3 separate regions of the Homo sapiens genome follow, and all the other regions are linked to region 1. The links are contacts of gene promoters, found by promoter capture Hi-C in blood cells and fetal thymus (Javierre and others, 2016). All regions are on one chromosome and are shown on one strand. The core of a region is centred on a gene start or on the middle of the fragment in contact, and the rest is flanking DNA. Distances in the headings are between cores, read along the strand shown. Region 1 holds the start of LRRC70 (leucine rich repeat containing 70). Region 2 has its middle 95 kb from the start of KIF2A. Region 3 overlaps KIF2A (kinesin family member 2A).

What was found. Contacts are between HindIII fragments. The CHiCAGO score rates a contact against its expected background, and 5 or more counts as called.
Region 2: a fragment that was not itself captured here is called in contact with the fragment with the promoter of LRRC70 in region 1 in 2 of 17 cell types (naive CD8 T cells and naive CD4 T cells); the score reaches 5.0 in naive CD8 T cells.
Region 3: a contact is called between a fragment that was not itself captured here and the fragment with the promoter of LRRC70 in region 1, in 1 of 17 cell types (fetal thymus). The highest score is 5.8, in fetal thymus.

Annotation. Positions count from the first base shown.
Region 1 is chr5:62,576,764-62,580,943 of GRCh38, forward strand. LRRC70 (leucine rich repeat containing 70) reads left to right here and starts at 2,056. Exons shown (of 2, transcript NM_181506.5): 1 at 2,056-2,172; 2 at 2,638-4,180. The coding sequence starts at 2,676. All of the region lies in intron 27 of IPO11 (importin 11), which reads left to right. It overlaps IPO11-LRRC70 (IPO11-LRRC70 readthrough), which reads left to right and starts at 1,972. Exons shown (of 4, transcript NR_073584.1): 1 at 1,972-2,172. The HindIII fragment of the contact is 1,459 bases long and covers 1,156-2,614 here.
Region 2 is chr5:62,208,952-62,213,131 of GRCh38, forward strand. No RefSeq gene overlaps it. Among named protein-coding and RNA genes, the nearest start is that of KIF2A, 95 kb to the right of the region's middle. The HindIII fragment of the contact is 3,122 bases long and covers 450-3,571 here.
Region 3 is chr5:62,310,223-62,314,402 of GRCh38, forward strand. The region is part of intron 1 of KIF2A (kinesin family member 2A); the gene reads left to right. Among named protein-coding and RNA genes, the nearest start is that of KIF2A, 6.1 kb to the left of the region's middle. RefSeq lists an enhancer at 4,140-4,180. The HindIII fragment of the contact is 5,853 bases long and covers 1-4,180 here.

The DNA.
Region 1 (4,180 bases), core at 806-3,305:
CAGAGCAAGACTGTGTCTCAAAAGAATACATGCATCCATACAGATGATGTATATTTAAAAGAGCTAATGGAACAATTGCTCTGTTATTTATACATTCTTGTTTTTGTATGGGGAGAATCTGAATGGAAAAGAGAATAGTTGTGTATTAATACCAGAAGCATGAGATGATTTGAAGACAAAGGCAGTGTAAAAGAAGGTTCAGCAACAAGAATGAGAGGAAAACAGCTCAATGAGTCAATTTCCTGGAAAGAAATAGAAGACTAATTTAAGAGGTTGAGCGTAGTGTTCAGTAATAGTTGTAATGAACATTAGTAATCAGAAAAGGATAATGAGGAATCATTGTTGATCAGTTGTCTCTAAGAACAGCAACTCCTAAATGAACAGAAAGACTAAACTTTGTTTTGCTGGAGATAGGAATTTTTTTTTAAACCATTCAACCTGAGAGTTACAGTGTACTATTTATATTTGCTTGTTTTGTTGAAGTCAGTTTAGTTTCCTTCAGTTTTTAGAATGTGAGAAGTGAGATTTTATTTTGTCATTTTTCCTTAATACAGTTTCCTAAAAATTTTACCTTTGCATCCTAATAAGTGTTCTTTACTGCTTTGGATATTTTTGGCATAAAGAACAAAATTAATTCATACTCTGGTTATATTACTTTGTGGGTTTTTTCTCTTTAATTTTATTTTTATTTCAAAGGACCCTTTCTCTGAATTTTTCCCAAGAAATTGAAAAATCCATGGGACAAGCTTCATATCACCTTGTATATTATTGGAAGTACTAAACAAAATGGACCTGAGAAACATAGCCCCTACCTCAAATTCATATCATTTCTGTCACTTGTTTTGTTTTCCATTTTTAATGCATAAAATAGCAATAACAGTAACCAGCCATAATGGATAGGTGTAAGAATCATAAGTCATTTTGATAACGATCTGCTATCCAGTATGCATTGCTGAATTTTTAGTCATAGAAAGATAATGCTAGGTATTATTTCAGCTTTCTAATATGGACATAATTCATATTATTTCTAAAGTAATTGTTGATGTGAAATGAAACTGCTTTAATATCAAAGGAGAGTTGTATACAATTATATAACTTGATATTTTAGGAATATTATCAGGCTATTAGTAATATTAATAAAAGTCAGAATTAGAAAGCTTAAGCAACTAGCTTAAAGTTAATGAAAGAAAGTTAATGACTGAACAATATATAATATAAACAATTTATATCCGATTCTTTAAATTCTTGAAAAATGACGTTAAAAAATTCTCCATTTTTGTTCTAAAAGATTCAAACTGATACAGATATATATAGGGCGAAACATCGCCTCTTTTACTCTCCCCAATTTTTCTTGCAAAGATAACCTATGTCAGTAAGTTGGTATGCAGCTTCTTAACATCTTATAACCCAACACAACCAATTAGTGCGTTACTACTAATTAGTAGCTTACTACCAATTAGTACCTCACGTATTAAGTAGTACTCAGTATTTTTTGCAACCAAAAATATTTTGAAAATTTTAAAAAGAGCACTGGAGGATAATATAACAACATTTATGTTCATTCTAAATTTTTTCCCCTATTTTTATTAAAGGAATAAAGCATAAAGTTTAAGTCTTCAATGCGTATTTAACACAACATAAATATTTTATTCATTAAAAAGTTTACAAAAAATTGTATTACTCGATATACATCTTATTTGAACTAGCCTTTTCCATTCAGTAGCTATGTTGTTTGATAGCTAGAGTCTGTTGATTGATATTTGGGTTCTGAATAACTAATGTTTTCAAGTATCCTTTAAAAACTATTATTTTTATATTATAGGAGATATTTCAATGTGTATATTAGGAAAACTCTAACTGCATTCTGAAAAAATAAGTTCCTGAGATTTCCGTTCAGCAATACTTTTGAAACACAGATAAAATTACTTCCTGTCTCTTAGCTTCCTGTATCCATGGCAACCTCTGTTTTACACATTGACTGTAAAGGAACCAATGTGAAGAGTGGTGTTTCCTGAGCAAACGGTGACTTAAAAAAAAAAAAAAAAAAGTGGTGGGGTGGAGGTCAGCAGTGCCACAGAACAAACTGGAGTTAAGAAATGTCGTTCTTCAGATTTAAAAAGAAAACCTTTACTGAATCAGCTGAGTGTTAATAATACGAATTTCCTTTTCTTGGTAAGATTATTTACTTAAATATGAACTTCTAGCTGACATGAAAAATAGTTCTGTGAAAAACTGTAATTTAGAATTTAATTGTTCTGTAGTGAATTTGTATTTTCATAAATTATAATGTTATTTGATATTAGACTTTATGTTGTTAAAGGGACATATTAAATTCAAAGATTCTCATTCCTACATCATTTGTCACCTGTGTTGTAATCAATTGTAATTTTTAAGTTAACTTAGCAAATGTTTCATTAATCTGAACTATTTTGTCAAATAGTGGGTTAATGGCCTGATCATGTTAATAATTCTAGAACGTATTCCATACTCATTATTTTTTGCTATTACCATGGTATGATTTATGATAGTATTATTGGCTGATCCTAATTAAAATAGAATACAGAAGTTATAGTATTATAAAAAAAATTCATTTGATGAAGTTTTCGTGATTTAAAGCTTTACCTTCTCTTTTTATAGCCAATTCTGATCTGAACAGAAAATCCAAGAACAGGGATATGTGTGGATTACAGTTTTCTCTGCCTTGCCTACGACTGTTTCTGGTTGTTACCTGTTATCTTTTATTATTACTCCACAAAGAAATACTTGGATGTTCGTCTGTTTGTCAGCTCTGCACTGGGAGACAAATTAACTGCCGTAACTTAGGCCTTTCGAGTATTCCTAAGAATTTTCCTGAAAGTACAGTTTTTCTGTATCTGACTGGGAATAATATATCTTATATAAATGAAAGTGAATTAACAGGACTTCATTCTCTTGTAGCATTGTATTTGGATAATTCTAACATTCTGTATGTATATCCAAAAGCCTTTGTTCAATTGAGGCATCTATATTTTCTATTTCTAAATAATAATTTCATCAAACGCTTAGATCCTGGAATATTTAAGGGACTTTTAAATCTTCGTAATTTATATTTACAGTATAATCAGGTATCTTTTGTTCCGAGAGGAGTATTTAATGATCTAGTTTCAGTTCAGTACTTAAATCTACAAAGGAATCGCCTCACTGTCCTTGGGAGTGGTACCTTTGTTGGTATGGTTGCTCTTCGGATACTTGATTTATCAAACAATAACATTTTGAGGATATCAGAATCAGGCTTTCAACATCTTGAAAACCTTGCTTGTTTGTATTTAGGAAGTAATAATTTAACAAAAGTACCATCAAATGCCTTTGAAGTACTTAAAAGTCTTAGAAGACTTTCTTTGTCTCATAATCCTATTGAAGCAATACAGCCCTTTGCATTTAAAGGACTTGCCAATCTGGAATACCTCCTCCTGAAAAATTCAAGAATTAGGAATGTTACTAGGGATGGGTTTAGTGGAATTAATAATCTTAAACATTTGATCTTAAGTCATAATGATTTAGAGAATTTAAATTCTGACACATTCAGTTTGTTAAAGAATTTAATTTACCTTAAGTTAGATAGAAACAGAATAATTAGCATTGATAATGATACATTTGAAAATATGGGAGCATCTTTGAAGATCCTTAATCTGTCATTTAATAATCTTACAGCCTTGCATCCAAGGGTCCTTAAGCCGTTGTCTTCATTGATTCATCTTCAGGCAAATTCTAATCCTTGGGAATGTAACTGCAAACTTTTGGGCCTTCGAGACTGGCTAGCATCTTCAGCCATTACTCTAAACATCTATTGTCAGAATCCCCCATCCATGCGTGGCAGAGCATTACGTTATATTAACATTACAAATTGTGTTACATCTTCAATAAATGTATCCAGAGCTTGGGCTGTTGTAAAATCTCCTCATATTCATCACAAGACTACTGCGCTAATGATGGCCTGGCATAAAGTAACCACAAATGGCAGTCCTCTGGAAAATACTGAGACTGAGAACATTACTTTCTGGGAACGAATTCCTACTTCACCTGCTGGTAGATTTTTTCAAGAGAATGCCTTTGGTAATCCATTAGAGACTACAGCAGTGTTACCTGTGCAAATACAACTTACTACTTCTGTTACCTTGAACTTGGAAAAAAACAGTGCTCT
Region 2 (4,180 bases), core at 761-3,260, 370 kb before region 1:
AGTTTGATAGTGGAGACAGCTGGACTAATGAAAGGCAGGTGTAAGAAGCATGAATTTGATCCCAAGTGCCAGTGTGTACTTTCCTGAGCAGCGGGACCACACTGGGCTAAGCTTCCCCCTGCATCTTTGCTTCAAAACAAGGTTGGACTAACACTAGGCCACTGGATCTGCTGGGGACAGCATATGATGGGACAACTAGCAGAGCATGCCAGAAGGCTCTGCTCAAATTCTCAGCCACATACATTATCAATTAAAGATCCATTTGGATCTGTGGATTTCAACTAAAAGGACAAGTCAGTTGAATGGGGAGGAGCTAACTACAACCTTTTCCTCAAATTCTGCCTTGCCCCTTAAGAAACATCAGAATATTGGGGAACAGACAAATGTAATTTGTGAAATGTCCCCCCAGAAGTTAGCTAGGCACCCTACCCTTACCCTAATGATCAATAAGCTTCTCCTTTAGAATTTTAATTCTTCTTGAAATAACCAGATCCTAGAGACTCTGATTCAAAAACTGTTGTGTGAGTCCTGAGTATGCGTGTGAAATAACCAGATCCTAGACAGTGTGATTCAAAAACTTTGTGTGTGTCATGTTAAAAGTTGCCCAGACTCTTCTGAGTACATAGCCAGGGTTAAGAAGTTGGGCTTAGTCTTCCAATCACTCCTACTAGGAACACATTATTTCAGTAAGACAATCCGAATCTCTCCCCCTTCACATAAGCAAAGATACTGAAGGAAGGCAAGAATTTCCTCCTCAATTTTTAATTATGAAAAAAAAAATTTTTGAGACAGGGTCTCACTCTGTCACCCAGGCTGGAGTGCAGTGGTGTGATCATAGCCACTGCAGCCTTGATCTCCTGGGCTTGAGCAATCCTCCCGCCTCAGCCTCCCAAGAAGCTGGGACTATAAGCAAACGCCACCATACCCCGCTAATTTTGTGTGTGTGCATGGCAGGAGAGAGACGAGGTGTCACCATGTTGCCCAAGCTAGTTTCAAACTCCTGGCCTCAAGTGGTCCTCCTGCCTTGGTCCCCAAAGTGCTGGGATTACAGACATGAGCCACCACACCTGGTCATGAAAATTTTTATTTATACAAAAATGTTGGAAGAATGGGTATTATAAACACACATATGCCCTTCCGCTAGATTCAGTAATTGCTAATATTTTGTGTGTCACTTATTTACCTTATTCATATACATACATACACATGCTCATGCATGCATGCATATGGATAAATCAATATGTGCACACACATATTGCTGAGCCATTTGAAATAAGTTGCAGACAGCATGATCCTTTATCACTGAATATTTTCAGTGAGTATTCTGAAAACTAGAACCTTCTCCTTGATAACCACAATATCAGCATCATAGTATATCTGTCTGAGTTCAATCAGGAGACAGAAAACACACAGTTATTTGAAAGAGGAAGTTTAAAATAATTATTAGGCTAGGCATGGTGGCTCACATCTGTAGTCCTAGCACTTTAGGAGGCCAAGGGAGGAGAATTACTTGAGCCCAGGAGTTTGAGACCAGCCTAGGGAACACTGTGAAGCCCCATCTCTACAAAACATTTTTTTTAATTAGCTGGGCATGGTGGCACATGCCTGTAGTCCCAGCTATTCGGGAGGCTGGGACAGGAGGATTGCTTGAGCCTGGGAGGTTGAGGCTGCAATGAGCCATGATCACCCACTGCATTCTCCATCCTGGGCTGAAGAGCCTGCCTCAAAACAAACAAAAGAATTATTAAGGGGCCAGGCATGATGATTCAAGGCTGTAATCCCAGCACCTTGGGAGGTTGAGGCAGGAGGATCATGAGGCCGAAGTGAGCTACAATCGTGCCACTGCACTCCAGCCTCCTGGCCAACAGAATGATACCTTGTCATTTAAACATATATAGATAGATTAGATAGATAGATAGATAGATAGATAGAGATATAATTGAAAAGTAATTATAAAGATGTCGGGCCAGGCACGGTGGCTCACGCCTGTAATCCCAGCACTTTGGGAGCCCGAGGCGGGCAGATCATAAGGTCAGGAGTTCGAGACCAACCTGACCAACATGGTGAAAACCCGTCTCTGCTAAAAAAAAAAAAAAATACAAAAATTAGCTGGGCATGGTGGTGGGGGCCTGTAGTCCTAGCTACTCAGGAGGCTGAGGCAGGAGAATCGCTTGAACCCTGGGGGTGGAGGTTGCAGTGAGCTGAGATCGTGCCATTGCACTCCAGCCTGGGTGATAGAGCGAAACTCCATCTCAACTTAAAAAAAAAAAGATGTCAAGATAACTCTACTGAATCCACTAGAGCTGAGTGAGAGTACCCAGGGAAGGACCAGCTTGGAAGAGGGATGCAAACACGCCTGGGTTCAGACCTCATTGGAGAAGGCATGGTTGCAGCCAATAGATAGTGGAGAAGTCTGCTGGGTTTTCTGGGCCAGATCTAGTCCGCAGTCGCCAGGAAAGCAGAAAATAACCCACCTCCCTCTCCCATACAAACACACACACACCCAGAGCCAAGGCTGGAGGGCAGGTTTGCAGACAAAGTCAGAACGGCTCCACACACACAAGGTTGGAGCACACAGTGTTGTTGGGAGTCACATCAAAGGAGTTCACCTGGTCTGGACTGAGGCTGGAAGGTCAGGATCTGGCATGCAGCTGCGGCAGTGTACCACCAGATGTACCCAGACACACATGCACCACTGACCAATTGGACAGCTGGAGCAAAAAAAGCAAAACATAGCACTCCAAAAGGAGGAAACAAAGCCCCCTTCCTCCCACAGTATCCCTCCTGTGCCCTCTATTGACAAAGTTAACATCATGCTAATAAAGAAGAAATACTTGGAGAGTCCAGTCCATTATTGTAGAGCAGTACTGAAGTGTGAATTGGAGCTGAGGCAATTGATAGTTGACACACACACATAATAAAATTAATAATTCCCTGACGATGGCTATTCTCAGTCCAGATTCAAATTTCTCCAATTGTGCCAAACACATCTTGTATAGTTTTATGAGGTTTTTTAACCAAGATCCAATCAAGTCCTTTTAGTCTCATTTGATTCAGAGCAGTCCCTCCCAACGTTTCTGTTTTAATGACATTGATCTTTAGAAGAAATTAATTGACTGATTGAGTTTCATTCTAGATTTGTCTGTTTGTTCCTGGTGTTAATTTTCTGTCCCCTGAATTTCTTGTAAACTGGAAGTTAAATCAAAGGTTTGACTACAGCCAGGTGAAATGTGTTTAAGAAGAATACTTCATGAGTTACACTGTGCACCTCACATTGTAACACATCAGGGACAGAGGGAGTGTTGGCTTCCCATTATTAAGGCAAGGAACTTGATCTCAGTTAAAGTAGTGATGGCCAGATACCTCCACTGTAATGGCGTGGTCTTCCTTTTGCAATTAGCAAGCAATCTGTGGGGTGTTATTTTGATGCTTTGAGAATATACTGTCCCCCAACCATCTTTCGGTTAATGGTTTTAGCATTTAATTTGTCATTAGGAAGTGCAAAATGGACACATTTTTTAATTCAATCTTTTCTTTTATATTTTTTAGCTGGCATTCTTCTGTAAAAAGAAGCTTTCCTTCATCAACTGTAAATAAACTAAACTTTTTCCCAAAAAAGAGAAGAAAAATGCATTATTAGTTATTTTCAGAATAAAGAAAAGAAAGTTTTGATTAGAGAAGAAGGGGAATCATTTTGTTGCAAGAGCTTAGGAGTGGTAGGCATGTCCTAGGATGACAGGACAGCCCGGGTTCCGGGGAGACCCATGAGAGCGGGATGCTGGAGGTTGGAGGGAAACTGGGATAAGCCATCTGTTTTGCAATCACCTGCCAAGGGCTTGGAGTAGAAACCCCTCCTCCCCTCCATTTGCCACTCAGTTATCTTTCCAGTCACCATTGGCATGTGGGCTGCAGAATGCTGATGCTGATTTCAGATAAGTGAACATGCTTCATTTACAACCAATACAGAAATACTGAGTGGCTACAGGACAAAAGAGGCTACATGGACTGCTCTGTGTGAAAGTGCTCAGAAAATGTAGTACAGTAAACAAAAATGAGGCATTACTGTATATTTTTGCTCTTACAAATAGTTATTTCCTCAGTAGTTTAATAATTTAATGAAAAAAAAGTTTTTGAATCACCATCTCATTTAAAATTTGAGATCCTTGGCCAGGCATGGTGG
Region 3 (4,180 bases), core at 976-3,475, 270 kb before region 1:
TTTGTATTTTTAGTAGTGACAGGTTTTTGCCACGTTGGCCAGGCTGGTCTCGAACTCCTGGCCTCAAGTGATCCACCCACCTCAGCCTCCCAAAGTACTGGGATTACAGGTGTGAACCACTGTGCCCAGCCTCTAATGACTCTTAAATTCCCTGAATGCATCTGTGTCATTACCCCCATTCCCACCCCCACTACTGGGATGTCTAGCAAAATTCCTTGCACATCGTTTTTGAATAAATCATACATTATTGGATTTTTTGTTTTCAAACATTTTAATTAATCATTAGAATGACATCTTAGCTGGAAGTGAAACCTTCCATCTGTGCTCCTCTGTACTGCTACCTCCCTACTCTGGCCCTCTACTTCCCGCTGGCCTGTTAGTCAGGAACTACAGCGTTAATTGAAATTGAGTGATCTGCTAAGGTTAATCTGACTTTTCTGGTTTTCTAAGGTTATCAGTGACAGGGGTTAGGCTTGGACTGCTAAGATTATTCTCTGCCACAGGAGATAACCTGGTATGAAATTGGACTGGTGTGTTTTCTTACATGTGTCTTCCTATTTTTCTGATTCAATTCCTTTCCCTTTTTAAAACCCACTGACTCTTAAAAAAACCTACAATCTTTCTGTCGTGTAGCTAGTTTGGTTTTTTTTTTCTTTTAGCTGTGCTGTTAACAGTTCTGTAGTAGCTGTGACTACCCTTTGGGGACTGGGGAAGAAATGGGAAATGTTGAACATTTGGAAGCTGCAGCTAATATGGGATTGTTCTTTGGGGGCGGGTCTCTTAGTCACAGTACTGTGACTGTATTGATACATGTAATCTGAAGAGAATCTTAGAATATTTCCACCAGAAAGGTTTTTGGAGATAAACTAGTTTTCATTTTTATAAATGTGGAAACTTGAGTCCCAGATCACCATAAGTGACTTATCTAGATTCATACAACTTGTCAATGGCAGCCAGGAACCTGACATGCTTAGCATAGAAATCAGACTATCAAGAACTATGACAGTAAAGGAGGAATTCTCTGTTATTTTGGAACCGTATACCGCTTTTTACAGCCCAGTCAAGATGTAGGAAATTGCTTCTTACTTCGGAGAAAGGCACCAGCGAGCAGTGTTACAGAGCTTGATTAGAATGATCCCTGGTAAGAAGTGCTATGTTACTACAAGTTCACCAAACCTAAAATTGTGGGAGGAAAGTATTCTTGTTTCTTAGTTAAGTATTGGTGTAAAGAGTTCCTTTTAACATCTGAAATCAAGAGGCAATTGAAGATTTCAAAGGACCCATCAGGAATTTTGGAGTTCAGGGCAGGCAAAGAAAATCTTTAGAAAAGATTTTAAATGGCCTAATTCTTTATATGCTTTGCCACATTTTTCTTCTGCTAGTTCATCTTTACACGTCACTATATAGGCTTCTGGAGAATAGCATGTGTAAATTTAAGTAATAAAGATGAACCATGTGGCAATACAGTTGTTCTTTAGGTACAATTATGTGATTGATTATGGGGGTGGGATGGAATAGGGGCATTTGTGACCTAATAGTTCCCTTTTCCCTGAGGACTAGGACGATAATGTTTCTGTATATGGATTTGTTAGGGCTTAATAGTTTTCCAAGTGCTTCAAGACATGTTAGCTAATTGGATCTTCACAGGAACTCTATGAGGTAAGCAGGATAGAAAGGTGGCAGATTATTGGTTTATAGGTGAAGAATCTGAGGTTGGATTATTTGCCAAGATCACATGGTTAATAAGGAGCATAGCCTGGGCCAAAGCCCGAATCCCTTCACTCCCAGCTCTCTAAGTGCTGCTGACAGATGTTTGCTGATTATGGTGTGAAGTTGTATACTTTAGTATTTCTTTCTGAGACATACAAACCCCTGTAGTAAAATTCTTTCCACTACTACCAAAGAAGCTCAAAAAACTTAAAATAGGCACTTATTGCTTCCAAAAGTACCACAGAAAGCCAGGAATCTGTATTCATTGCCTAGCCACTTGATTCTTATGACAAAGATTTTGAAACTCTGGGGAAAGGCTATGTGTCAACTTGTTTTATGTGTCATGATTGTTAAAATGCTAGAGAAAACAGCAAAGAGCCAGTTAAATCTGTGTCTGCTCAAATAAGACAAGGGGCAAGAGTGTGGAAAATCCAGAACAAGATTCCCTGAGAGATCATCTAGACCCCGTTCTTTCTAGTCAGAAGTATAGTTGTGATTAATATGACATTAATCTTTTGCAAAGTTTAATTCTTGGATTCAGCCATCTGCTTTAATTTTAACACATCTGTTTTGTAACCTAAAATAATTTTAAGGTGTTTGTTTATTTGTTTGTTTGTTTTGAGATTACGATTCTTAAGAATAGATACAAGTTTTAAACCTTGGATAAAACTAATTTTTATTCTTCTGGTTCAGTTGTAGAACAAATACAGGTTAAGTTGTCTTCCAGCTCTTTTAGATAAAGCAATATTAGTGGTTTTATAGTGCTAAGTGAAAAGAGACATTAGAATTTCACCATATTAAACTATCTCCCAAGAGTAATATGAGTGAGGGAAGTGTTCCTTTTAAAAGTCATGCTTCTAGGCTGAGCATGGTAGTTCATGCCTGTAATTCCAGCACTTTGGAGGCCAAAGCAGGAGAATTGCTTGAGCCTATGAGTTTGAGGTTATAGTGCACTATGATATCATTACCCACTACAATAAAACACGAAGTTCAGATGGTCATTCACTAGGGTGTGTGATATTTTGGAGTATAGACCTTAAGTGATTATGACATATCAAAATAATGTGGTCTTATGTTTCTTTTTTTTTTATTGCAGATTTCATTGAATATACTTCTATTAACAGCCTGCTATATATCAGGCATTCTGATAGGTGTTGGAGATACAAAAAATGAATAAAGCAAAAATAGTTCCTGCCCTCACAAACAAGTAAATAAGTGATTCATCTATAGTGTGATTAGTACTGATAGAAATATGCCATTTTGTGTGTACATTATTACTACCTTCCTTTTGAAGATTAGGCTTTTTTGTTAGACTCTTGAAGTTATGGACCTTTTGGATGGAAAATACATGTCATATATGCCATCTCTCCTCCTCTATGACCAATATCCGTGATCCCTCATAGCATTCCTGATGAATTTAGCCTCAGAGTTTTTTTTGAGAGGGAGTCTCGCTCTTGTTGCTCAGGCTGGAGTGCAGTGGCGTGATCTCGGCTCACTGCAACCTCTGCCTCTTGGGTTCAAGCGATTCTCCTGCCTCAGCCTCCTAAGTAGCTGGGATTATAGGCATGCGCCAACATGCCCGGCTAATTTTTTTGTATTTTTAGTAGAGATGGGGTTTCACCATGTTGGCCAGGCTGGTCTTGAACTCCTGAGCTCGTGGTCCACCCACCTCAGCCTCCCAAAATGCTGGGATTACAGGCTTGAGCCACTGCGCCCGGCCAGCCTCAGAGTTCTTAATACAGCATTATCAGCCCTAATAGCCCTAGTCTGCCAATTGAAATTGGCATTGTCATTATTAGCCTATTTCCTATACTCTAGTACCTATTTGAGTTATAAGTTTATAACTTTTAAATTGTTTTGGTATCAAAAGGAATTTTTTTTTAGGGTTTTGCTCTGTCACCCAGGCTGGAGTGCAGTGGCATGATCATAGCTCACTGCAGCCTCCAAGTCCTGGACTCAAGCAATCCTCTCACCTTAACTTCCCAAGTAGCTAGGACTACAGGTATGCACAACCATGCCTAGCTAATTTTTGTATTGTTTGTAGAGATGGGGTCTTGCTATGTTGACTAGGCTGGTCTTGAACTCCTGGCCTCAAGCAATTCTCCCTCTTTGGCCTCCCAAAGTACTGGGATTACAGGTGTGAGCCACCATACCTGGTCAAATTTATTCAATTTAAAGTTTTTGGCAGACCAGCACCTGACAGCAGGTTTCTCTCTAGATATCCTGGGTTTGGGTACTTGTAAATAGAGACTGGCTCGGTGTGGTGTCTCATGCCTGTAATCCCAGCACTTTGGGAGGCCTAGGCAGGAGGATTGCTTGAAGCCAGGAGTTGGATACCAGCCTGGGCAACATGATGAGGCTCTATTTCTACAAAAAATAAAATTAGCCAGGCCTGGTAGCATGTGACTGTAGCCCCAGCTACTCAGGAGGATGAAGTGGGAGGACTGGTTGAGCCCAGGAGTTGGAGGCT